Linked DNA regions of Homo sapiens: all the other regions are linked to region 2. Evidence: promoter capture Hi-C in 16 types of primary human blood cells and fetal thymus (Javierre and others, 2016). All regions are on one chromosome and are shown on one strand. The core of a region is centred on a gene start or on the middle of the fragment in contact, and the rest is flanking DNA. Distances in the headings are between cores, read along the strand shown. Region 1 overlaps EFR3B (EFR3 homolog B). Region 2 holds the start of DNAJC27 (DnaJ heat shock protein family (Hsp40) member C27). Region 3 has its middle 7.6 kb from the start of POMC.

The links. The method cuts DNA at HindIII sites, captures the fragments that hold promoters and counts their contacts. A CHiCAGO score of 5 or more calls a contact.
Region 1: a contact is called between a fragment that was not itself captured here and the fragment with the promoter of DNAJC27 in region 2, in 3 of 17 cell types (M1 macrophages, M0 macrophages and endothelial precursors). The highest score is 5.8, in M1 macrophages.
Region 3: a fragment that was not itself captured here is called in contact with the fragment with the promoter of DNAJC27 in region 2 in 1 of 17 cell types (M1 macrophages); the score reaches 5.1 in M1 macrophages.

The regions. Positions count from the first base shown.
Region 1 is chr2:25,151,428-25,154,788 of GRCh38, reverse strand. EFR3B (EFR3 homolog B) reads right to left here. Exons shown (of 23, transcript NM_014971.2): 21 at 2,769-2,875; 22 at 1,028-1,077; 23 at 1-554. The coding sequence ends at 449. Among named protein-coding and RNA genes, the nearest start is that of POMC, 15 kb to the left of the region's middle. The HindIII fragment of the contact is 1,351 bases long and covers 735-2,085 here.
Region 2 is chr2:24,969,723-24,973,347 of GRCh38, reverse strand. DNAJC27 (DnaJ heat shock protein family (Hsp40) member C27) reads left to right here and starts at 1,393. Exons shown (of 7, transcript NM_016544.3): 1 at 1,393-1,530. The coding sequence starts at 1,444. DNAJC27-AS1 (DNAJC27 antisense RNA 1) reads right to left here and starts at 1,236. Exons shown (of 3, transcript NR_034113.1): 1 at 1,116-1,236. RefSeq lists enhancers at 344-861, 1,073-1,152, 862-1,380, 1,363-1,472, 1,733-1,842 and 2 more and a silencer at 1,603-1,682. The HindIII fragment of the contact is 9,578 bases long and covers 193-3,625 here.
Region 3 is chr2:25,174,327-25,178,000 of GRCh38, reverse strand. No RefSeq gene overlaps it. Among named protein-coding and RNA genes, the nearest start is that of POMC, 7.6 kb to the right of the region's middle. RefSeq lists an enhancer at 1-1,070. The HindIII fragment of the contact is 4,865 bases long and covers 1-3,674 here.

The DNA.
Region 1 (3,361 bases), core at 161-2,660, 180 kb before region 2:
GGGAGGAGAGAGCCATCCCCATCTCAGCTTCCTTCCCCAGGGGAGTAGAGTCCTTAGCTTCCTCTCACCAACCAAGTCTCCATCCAGCTCCGTCCTCTGGGGAGGACATGCCCTTCACTCAAAACACCAAGTAGGAGCTTCTCAGCCCCCTCCCCCCGGCTTCTCCTGAGAGACACCCCATGATTCTCTGCCCCTGGCTGACACAAGAGAAGACAAAGAGGGCACAGGTGAGATGCTGATTGGTGAGACCTCCCTCAGGGAAGACGAGGAGGAGGTAGGAGGGCCAAGAAGGACCAGAGAGTCTCCACCTTGGCTTAGCCTGGGAGGCGCTGCCATCTAAGGTGATGTTTTCTCAGAGATCACAGCCAGATCTCCATGTGGTCGGGGTGGGCGTGAGGTGAGCCCCTCCTCAGACCCCATCTCCTTGAGGAGCTCAGGCTCTTGGAATTCAGTATACACACAGATCGGGAAACTTCATTTCATAGACGGGGATGGAGTGGTTCTGCGGCTGACCGTAGGCTGCAGTGATGGTTCCTGATGGGCTTGGTGGGGGCCTAGGGGGCAGGAACACATGGGGAGAAAGGCATGAAAAGAGAATTTTAGGATCCCACCCTTGTGCAACCAAACAGAGTAGGTGACTTGGGTTTCTTTTTGCACAGGCACCAGAGACCCCTTCATTCCACAGGTTCCCAGGATTCCACGTTCTACTAGAATCTACAGCTTGGAGTCAAGCTTCCCTGCAGGCTCCGCAGTGACACTGCTGCTTTAGAAAGTGCCAGCCCGGAACACTAGGACTCTTGCGTCTTTCCAGGTTTCATTGAGGCAGGCTCTTTCCCTCTCTGGTCTCTATTTCCTTGTCTAGGGAGGGTTAGAGTTGGTGGCTGACTCCAGCCCAGGGGATAGAGATTACAGTGGTAGAAGGAGGTGGGGAGGAGAGAAGAGAAGACAGGGGTGAGAGGACTCAGGATGAGGAACCCCAATACTGGGCCACGGAGGTCAGGGTCCCCTGCCCAGGGTTGTCACTTACCGGATGGTGATTTCAAAGATCTGATTGAGTTTGCTCTGGAGCAGCGATGCCTAGACACAAACACACGGAAGTGAGCTGGCAGGGGTGGGGGGTCCAGAACCTCTGCCAGCTGGCTCAGGGTGTCCAGAGTATACGCTGGAGGTACAGGGCAGCCACAGCCTTAGGAAGGCAGGCAGAGGTGAACACGCTCCAGCACTCATCCACTGGACCCTGACTGCAGATTCGGATCAGGGAAAGCCACCTACTGAAGGCTGGCTGGGGACAGGACAGAGGCTCAGAATCACCAGGGAGGACGTCAGCAGGCAGTTCTGGAAGGTCCTTTTCCTTAAGATGGGGCAGTAGGGGCTGCTGGGCATGGAGTCGGGAGACTGCACTAGTGCCGGCTCTTTTCTTTTCTTTTTTTTAATTGAGAAGGAGTCTTGCTCTGTTACCCAGGCTGGAGTGCGGTGGCATGACCTCAGCTCACTGCAACCTCTACCTCCTGGGTTCAAGTAAGTCTCCCAACTCAGCCTCCTGAGTAGCTGGGATTACAGGTGCCTGCCACCATGCCCGGCTAATTTTTGTATTTTTAGTAGAGATGGAGTTTTGCTATGTTGGCCAGGCTGGTCTCGAACTCCTGACCTCAGGTGATCTGCCTGCCTCAGCCTCCCAAAGTGCTGGGAGTACAGGCATGAGCCACTGTGCCCAGCCTGTGCCAGCTCTTTTCTAACTTGCAAGGAGCAGCTGTGCAAAACTGGTGGCTTAGAGATGATCTCTGATTACTTCTGGCTCTAATGAGGTTAATGAATGCAGAGAGTGGGACTGCACGTGTTCCGTGACTGGGCCCTGATTCCTAGCTCATAACATGGGCATCCCTCTCAAAGTGGGATGAGAGGTTAGAACAATACAGGCCCAGGAAAATCTATATGTGTTTTATATACACACACACACACACACACACACACACACTTCTATATGAATATTATATATAAAATATTTATACATATTATATTTTGTTAGGAGAATAGGTTATTTGTAGATTTTGAATGTTTACAGTTATGTTTCATTGTTACTAAGCTTGACATTCGGGGCTAATAAATCCCGGCATAGAATCAATTTCAAGATTGTCTGAGCTCCTCCCTCCAGTCTAGGCATGGCTCCTCATTTCTACATGTCCAGCTGCCTCTCTCTCTGATCTCTTTGCCAAGGCCTGGCTGTTCCATCCCCCTGCCAAGGTACCCTGGTTGGAAGAGGGTCCTGCTGCCAACGTTGACCATCTTCCTTTGCCACACACCCCTCCCCCATCACTCTGTAACATGGGGATCATAATGGCACCAACTTCATGGAGTTATCATGAGAATGAAAGCGGCTCATCAATAGAAGAAGCTGTCATCCGCAGTGAGTGCTGTTCACGTGCCTGCTGTCAGGACCACAGTGAGCATGATCTGACTGCCAGACAGGTGCCTCAGCTCAGGACTTCTTCCTTATGTGAGAAGTGTGAGGTCTCAGAGAGACCCAAGACAAACACCCAAGTCTTTTGGTTCATAGGGGAGCAGTGCAGCGCCAGGGTGTTGGGGAAAGCCTGGCAGGGCAACAGCGGAGCTCCCTGCATTGGAATACAAGCCCTGATGTCTGGCAGGGTGGGGGTGGGGGAGGTTGGTGGTCAAAGAGCCAAGATCTCCTAGGAACTTAATCCTGTCCTGGACCCAAATTCAGTCTTGACTTGGCTCCCAGGGACTCGCCCATGTCATGCTTCACTTACCCGGGCCCCGCAGTGTGCAGCAATCTCCTCGAAGGGTGCCTTCTGGAACTTCTCCACCACCTGCCGCCGCCGCTCACGCTCCTGCTCCTCCACTGCTACGCTGTCCACTTCGACACAGAGAGCTGGGTTAGTGCCAGGCCCTGCTCACTGAGGTGAAGGGAGGGACTCCTCCAGGGAGCACTGTCCATGAGCATTGCTTGGGCTCTCCCCTCTTCTGAAGAGTAGGGGACAGTGGCGTGGAGGTGCGGTGCCCTCACTTGGCCCTGGAAGGTGGGACCTCTTCCTGATTCTGCCTGAGGGCTCAGCCTTCTTCCTCATGTAAGAATTTGAGAACTATGTGGGAGGCCCTTTCAGCGGGGCTCTTACAGCCCCAAGTAGCTGCTCTCCCACCGGGACTCTTAAATTGAAGGTCCTGAACAGTTGGTCCTTTGAGTACTCTGTGGGTATTTTGAAAAGGGACATTGAGGCTGGGCACGGTGGCTCACACTTGTAATCCCAGCATTTTGGGAGGCCGAGGCAGGAGGACATCTTGAGGTCAGGAGTTTGAGACCAGCCTGGCCATCATGGTGAAACCCCCTCTCTACTAAAAATAC
Region 2 (3,625 bases), core at 144-2,643:
TATAATTATTCTTCCACAATACCAGTTACCCTATTACAGGGCCAAAGGTGAACTGTCGAAGAAATTACATGTTTAGTAATTTGATTTATTAAATCATACTGAGAAGTTAGCATGTGGATTCTTTTAAGCTTTAAAACTATCCAAATTCTAACCAGGACTTATATTTCATATTTGTAAATAATTTTAGAAGCTTCAGTGAATTAAGTTATATTATTTGATTATCAAAACAATCCAGAATAAACTTGTCTTAAAAAAAACTTAATGTTTAAAAAACACATTTTAAAATTAAAATGTGGAAAATCTGACTTTACTGTGAAATGTTGAGCCTTTGCTCATTGCCTTCCTGTAATGCACTTCCCTTAAGATGTTTAAAGTTAGGTGAGAAAAGAAGCAATGCTACTTTTGTCTTTGTAATATACAGGGAAATTGGCAGCCATTTTTTTTCAGGGCACTATAAATAATCATTGTCAAGTTCTATTTATCTTCTGTAACTGAAGATATTCACTGAAAAAAAATTACCGTTCCTGTCAGACTGACTTTTATTCAAGCACTGTCACATTGTCAGCTAAAGGGAAGGGGAGAGCAGACGTCGAGGTCACGTTCGAAGCGAACAGCGGGGAGCTGAGGAAACTGACGTCCACAGCTCCAGCCTGGCTTAGCGTTAACACCTGCAGTAGACCAAGCCTTTCTCCCACAGAGGAGTCAACAAATCCATCAGAGATCTGTAATAGGAGGGCCAAGACTAAACACTCTTGCCTTGACTCCAAATAGACAACTCCATTTAAAATAAAAAACAATAGGAACCAGATTCAGAATCGCTTCACGCCTTGCCCAAGGCCCTCTTCCAGAACCAGGGTTCCGACCTCCCCACTTTCCTGGCTTTGGGGTCTGCCTCTCGGGGATCTCGAGCAAGGGGAACAAAATATTGGAGGGGGAAGAGGAGCAGCAGCCCGGCCCATGGAACCGAAAAAGAATCCAGAAAAAAAAAAAAACACTCCCAAACGGACGAGACACTACCAGACCCGCCCTGAAGAGCCAATACATTTCCACCACTCGGCTGCGAAAGCAACAAACGCCTCCCGTCCGGGCGTCCCTGAAAACAAGGACGCGCTCACCTCGAAGGGTAAACCCAGCCGCCCCCCAACGCCGCCTTCCCGTCAGGGGACGAGGCCTTAGAAACTCGGTAACTGCAGTCGCGTCTCCAGGGCCTGCAGATGACGTCAGCAGCCCCGCGCTAGCATCGCGAGACTCCCGTCTCCCTCCCCCGGCTCCCCACGCTCCCAACCGCCCGCGCCTGCTGCCAGGCAGCGGCGGGGATGGCGAGCAGCGGAGGCGAGGCGGTGACGAGAGCAGCGGCTCCGCCATTGGACGAGGAGGCCTGAGGGACGGGCCAGCGGTGCACAAGAAGAGACCGAGGCGGGTGGCCCCGAGAGAGCCAGGGCCATGGAGGCCAACATGCCGAAGCGGAAGGAGCCCGGCAGGTCTCTCCGCATCAAAGTCATCTCCATGGGCAACGCCGAAGTGGGGAAAGTGAGTACAGCGAGCCGGGAGGGGCGGGCCCCAGCGTGGCGGGGCGACGTGTCCATTGGCTGGAAGGGCGGCCACTCAACAGCCTGGGGCCCGGCCTCCTCTCCGCCCCCGAGCAGGCCCGGGTCTCAGCCGAGGGGTGCGGCTCCGCGAACGAAACTCCCCGACCTTTTTGACCTTTCCGTTGCCCCCTCGTCCTCCGACGTCACTCTTCCGGAGATGGTGTCTGGGGTGGCCTCTAAGCCTTGAATGTACCCCCAAAAGAGTAAGAAGGCCTGGGTCCCCATGAGGGGCCGTCGGCCTAGATACCTTGCCCGCGTTCTAGGGGGCCGTCCGGGACCGGGAGATGGAGGATGAAAGTTTAGTTCCCCCAGCCGGGCCTGGGAGCCGGCGGAACGTTATGGGGTGCGTGTGAGAATTTGGGGTTCGCGAAATGGTGCCCGGCAGCCCAGATTCTGCATTCCCGTCACGAGAGAGCGTAACTGACGTTGACGTGTTTCACAGGGGAGGTGCAAGGGATGGCCGGGGTCCGCGCTGTTTTGTTTTGCGTTGTGTTTTATTTTTGGTGGTGTCCCCATATCTGTTAGTTCCACCGCCCTTCTCTCTGCCCCATCTGTGGTTCATCAGCTATAAACTCTCCTTTAGTACGTGGGGAGGGAAGGCCAGAGGTAACCTGAGGCCTTTTCCCTTATGAATTCCAAGACGGCCTCCTCTTCACTCAAATTCTTTCCTTTTGGGCAAGTGGAATCTGTTGGTTAAGAACTTCCCAAGGTCATCAAATCAGTGACCGAGGAAAGATTAGAACCTAAGTCTTCACATTCCCACTGCGGTGCTCTTTCCGTCGTTGTATGCGTTCAAAATCAACTCCGAAAGAGCTGTTAAGGCAGTGCCTAGTCCAGTGCCTGGCACCCAGGAGATGCTCAGTAAATGTTTACTTAGTGTTTTTTATTTCTGTGTAGCATGATCCCGTACTACTTTTGTGTGTATGTGCTAGCATAGTATTCACTGAAAGTCAACATTTTTTTGAACGTCAGCTGTGTACGAGGTGTTTTTTTTTTTCTAGGGACTGGGCACGCTAGCTCAGGCCTGTAATACATCAGCACTTTGGGAGGACGAGGCGGGCGGATCACTTGAGGTCAGGAGTTCAAGACCAGCATAGTGAAATCCTGTCTCTACTAAAAATGCAAAATTAGCCAGGCATGGTGGTGCACGCCTTTAATCCCAGCTACTTGGGAGGCCGAGGCGGGAGAATCGCTTAAGCCGGGGAGGCAGAGGCTGCAGTGAGCCGAGATCACGCCATTGCACTCCAGCCTGGGCGGCAGAGTGAGACGCCGTCTCAAAAAAAAAAAAAAAAAAAAAAGTAATTTTACTGTGCCTAATGATACAACATTAGAAGCAGCTCAGAATGCCCAGTGTCACCACATCTACTTAACATTTTTCTAGTTTTATTAGCCAGTGCAATTAGACAAGAGTAAGAGAATATAAAAATATTAGAAAAGAGAAGGTAAAATTAACATTATTTGCTAATAATACGATTGTTTACCTGGAAACCCAAAGAGAAATAACTGAAAAACTATTAGAAACATTATAAAAATTCAATAAAGCAAAATTATTACCCACAAATTAATAACTTTATTGTGTCCAAATTATATTCAGTTGGAATGTGTAATTGAAAAACAATTTTAATTTACAGTTACAACAAAAATAAAGTTCCTAGGTTTAAACTTAACATGAAATAGGCAGCACCTATATGAAGACAAGTTTCAAACTCTACAAAGGGAGATAAATTACTTAGGCAAATGGAAAGATATACTTTTTCCTTACGTGGGATTACACAATATTGTACAGATGTGAATTACTCAACCTACAAATGAAATTCAATTCCAGTGAAAACATCAATAAGGGTTTTTTTTTCCCAGAACATAATACAAGACTACTAAAGTCTTCATGAAAAATTAATGTGAAAACAACAAAGAAAATTGTGGGGAAAAAAAAGAAATGAAAGAAGACCAACTGTATCAGCCATTTAAAAATATTTTTCAGGCCGGGCGCAGTGGCTCACGCCTGTAATTCTAGCACTTTGGGAGGCAGAGGCAGG
Region 3 (3,674 bases), core at 207-2,706, 200 kb before region 2:
AGGTCCCTGTGTCTGCTGGCCACAGAGCTGGGGCTAGAACCCAGGTCACCTCACCCCCTCCCACTGCTTCTTCCTCCACTCTATTTTTTTTTTTTTCTGAGGCAGGGTTTGGCTCTGTTGCCCAGGCTGAAGTGCAGTGGCATGATCATGGCTCACTGCAGCCTCCACCTCCCAGGTTCAAGTGATCCTCCCACCTCAGCCTCCTAAGGAGCTGGGACTACAGGCGTGTGCCACCATGCCCGGCTAATTTTTGTATGTGTGTGTATATACGTGTATATATATATATATATTTGTAGAAATGGGGTTCCACCATATTACCTAGGCCCTTCCTCCACTCTTGACTCTGCTTTGGACCCTGAGGGTGCTGACAACCTGCTCTAGGGAGGGGCATGGACTCTGGCCCTCCCCACTGTGCTCTGCGGCACCCAGACCATGCAGACCTTGGCCCAGGCTGCTGCACTAATGCGCGCATTAGTGGATAAAAGCAGTCTCAAGGGTCTCTTCACGAGGTCCCTTTGGCTGGAATAAAGCAAATTAAAACCCCATTCAAAGGTCAATTGAAATCTCTTTCATTCCAGTTCTCTGCACAAATTGATTCCTCTTTGCCCTTGAGGTCAAACCGAAGGCTGGTGAAGTAGCCCAGCTGCAGTGCTGCATGAGAGAAGCTCAATGAAAAGGCTGAGACTGGGGAGGGCGTGTTGCAGGGGTGAAGCGGGGCAGTGGGATCCGCCTGAATTGTAGGGCCATCTGGGGCACCAGTAACCCTCTCCTCTGCAGTGCTTCAGGCTTCAGGCCCTTTTCTGGAGGCAGCTCCCTGTCTGCCCTGCAAACCACATCAGGCTCCCCTCAGAGGGATGCTTAATTAGGGTTTCTATTGACAATTGTGGGTGCCAAGAGAAAATTTCCTTCCTTCACTCTGCCCTCTGAAGTTTTGTTGAAAATGAACTGCTAATAGACAGATTAATAGGGGAACAAGACATACAAATTAATTTCATGTGTATAGCATAGCAGAATGGTGGGAGAATGATTACCCAGTAACTCAATGAGGTCCAGATGCCTGCAGATATTTCTTGATAGGGGAAGGGAAAATGAGGGGCATAGGAGTAAATGATTTTCTGGGAAAGTGAATGCGCCCGAGGAACAATGGCCTGGGACAAAGTTCTTCTCTGTTCTTTGGGTAGGTGGTGTGAAGGTGAGAAGCAGAAAGTCATTGTGAACGCAGCCTGTCTTATTATGCAGGTAACCCCCCTAGGCTATCTCTTGGAGTTGCCCTCAGAAAAATGCAAGAAAAGTCTGTCTGGAGGCGGTGATGATCCGTCTCTTCTCAGGTGGTTAATCTTTCTTTCCTGGTTATTTGATGAGATTCCTATGAAGGGAGGCTTCAGGCAATTGTATTTCTTTTAGAAAGAAGTTTCCTTAGTCAGATATGGAAATGCCAAAGACAGTACCTTCTGGTGTTTTGGAAAAAATCAGAGAGACAGGGAGTGAGGGGAAGGTCAGGGCGAGATTTTGAAGGTTCTTCAAAGGAACTGAAGCTGCTTCTTTAGTTCCATATTTTGGGGTATAATTTTCTGAGCCCCAGTGCAATTTTAGCGGTAGTTAGGATTTCTTGAAAGTGCTCACGATTCTTGAATGCCCACATAAAGGGGAAGATACTGGGCTATTTCTCATTCAGACACAATGAAGAGGAGGCACTTCCCTGTTTCAGGTTCATGTGTCCTACAGAGGGAGTACGGAGATGTTACTGGAAAGGAATCCCAATCCGGACCCCAAAAGAGGGTCCTTGGATTTCACGCAAAAAAGAATTCTGGGCAAGTCCATAGATTAAAGTGAAAGCAAGTTTATTTATTAGGAAAGTAAAGGAATGAAAGAATGGCTACTCCATAGGCAGAGCGACCTGGAGGGCTGCTGGTTAACTTTTTTTTTTTTTTTCTGAGACAGAGTCTTACTCTGTTGCCCAGGCTGGAGTGCAGTGGCGTGATCTCAGCTCACTGCAACCTCCGTCTCCCAGGCTCAAGCAATTCTCTACCTCAGCCTCCCAAGTAGCTGGGATTACAGGCGTCTGCCACCACGCCCGGCTAATTTTTGTATTTTTAGTAGAGACAGAGTTTCACCATCTTGGACAGGCTGGTCTTGAACTCCTGACCTCGTGATCCACCTGCCACGACCTCCCAAAGTGCTGGGATTACAGGCTTGAGCCACCACGCCTGGCCTGGTTAACTATTTTTATGGTTATTTCTTGATGGTATGCTAAACAAGGGGTGGATTATTTATGTTTCCCCTTTTAGACCATATAGGGTGACTTCCTGACATTGCCATGGCATCTGTAAACTGTCATGGCGCTGGTGGGAGTGTAGCAGTGAGGACCAGAGGTCACTCTCTCAGTGGCCATCTTTGTTTTGGTGGGTTTTGGCCGGCTTCTTTACTGCAAACTGTTTTATCAGCAAGGTCTTTATAACCTGTATCTTGTGCCGACCTCCTATCTCATCCAATGACTTAGAATGCCTAACCATCTGGGAATGCAGCCCAGTAGGTCTCAGCCTCATTTTACCCAGTCCCTATTCAAGATGGAGTTGCTCTGGTTCAAACGCCTCTGACAAAGAGGGTTTTGGAGAATCATGAGTTTCTGCAAACTGAGGGTTAAGAGGGAGAGGGTCTCCCTTCCTCATTCATCCCCTCCTACCCTTGCTGTACAAATATTTTTCAAGCACCAACTCTCTACCAGGCACTGATTATGGGAGCTGTGCCCTTAGAGGCAACCGGCACCAGCTGAGCAGCCCAAGGGCCCCTCTAGACCAAACAACAGCAGGAATGAAGAGGCCCTGGCTGAGCCTAAGGAGTTCCGAGAAGGGACAATTGTTATTCCATGAGACAGGGATGGCAGCTGCCCCCAGCTTGTCCATGGAGACTATGGAGAGAGAATGAAGAAGGGCGTGCCAAGGTGGAGCTGGGGCTCCTCGTTCAGACCCTTAAGGCATGAATTGGTGCTTATTCCAGCAAAGTCCCCCACAGACATGAGGCAGCTTCATCCCTAAGTCTTCTCTTCTCCCAGGGTAATGTCCCCCATTGCCAGTCCCAATGCCTGGAGGCTGACAACGAGGCCACCCTCCTTGTACCTCCTTATCCCCTGCCCCATGTTGGGCTCTGCCACCCTGTCCTTGTTTCTGTCCTCTCAGTCATCAGCCTCCCCTGCACCTGCCCTTGTAACGCACTCACACCCTGGTGACATCTCTTTTCCAATTAAAACCTCAAAGGTGAAAAGCTGAGATGATGAGAGCAGCCCCAGCCCTACGTCTACAGCCACCTGGCACGCCCGCAGCCAGGTGCAGGTGCATCGCCCCGGCCCCAGGAGTCCTCACAAGCAGGGTCTCCCAACAAACCCATCAGCTACCCTGTCCAAAAGACCCTGTGTCTGCTCCTGTCTTACCTCCTTCCCTCCTTTCTTCCCTCCTTCCTTCTTTCATTTATTCCTTCCCTCCTTTCTTCCTTCCCTCCCTCCTTCCTTCTTGTCTTCCTTCCTTCTTTCCTTCCCTCCTCCCTTCTTTTATGTCTTCCTTCCCTCCCTTCCTTGCTTCTTCCTCCCTCTCTTTCTCCCTCCTTCCAACCTTGCCTTCTTTCCTTCCCTCCCTCCTTCTACTTCCTTCCTCCCTCTATCCCTCTCTCCCTCTCTCCCT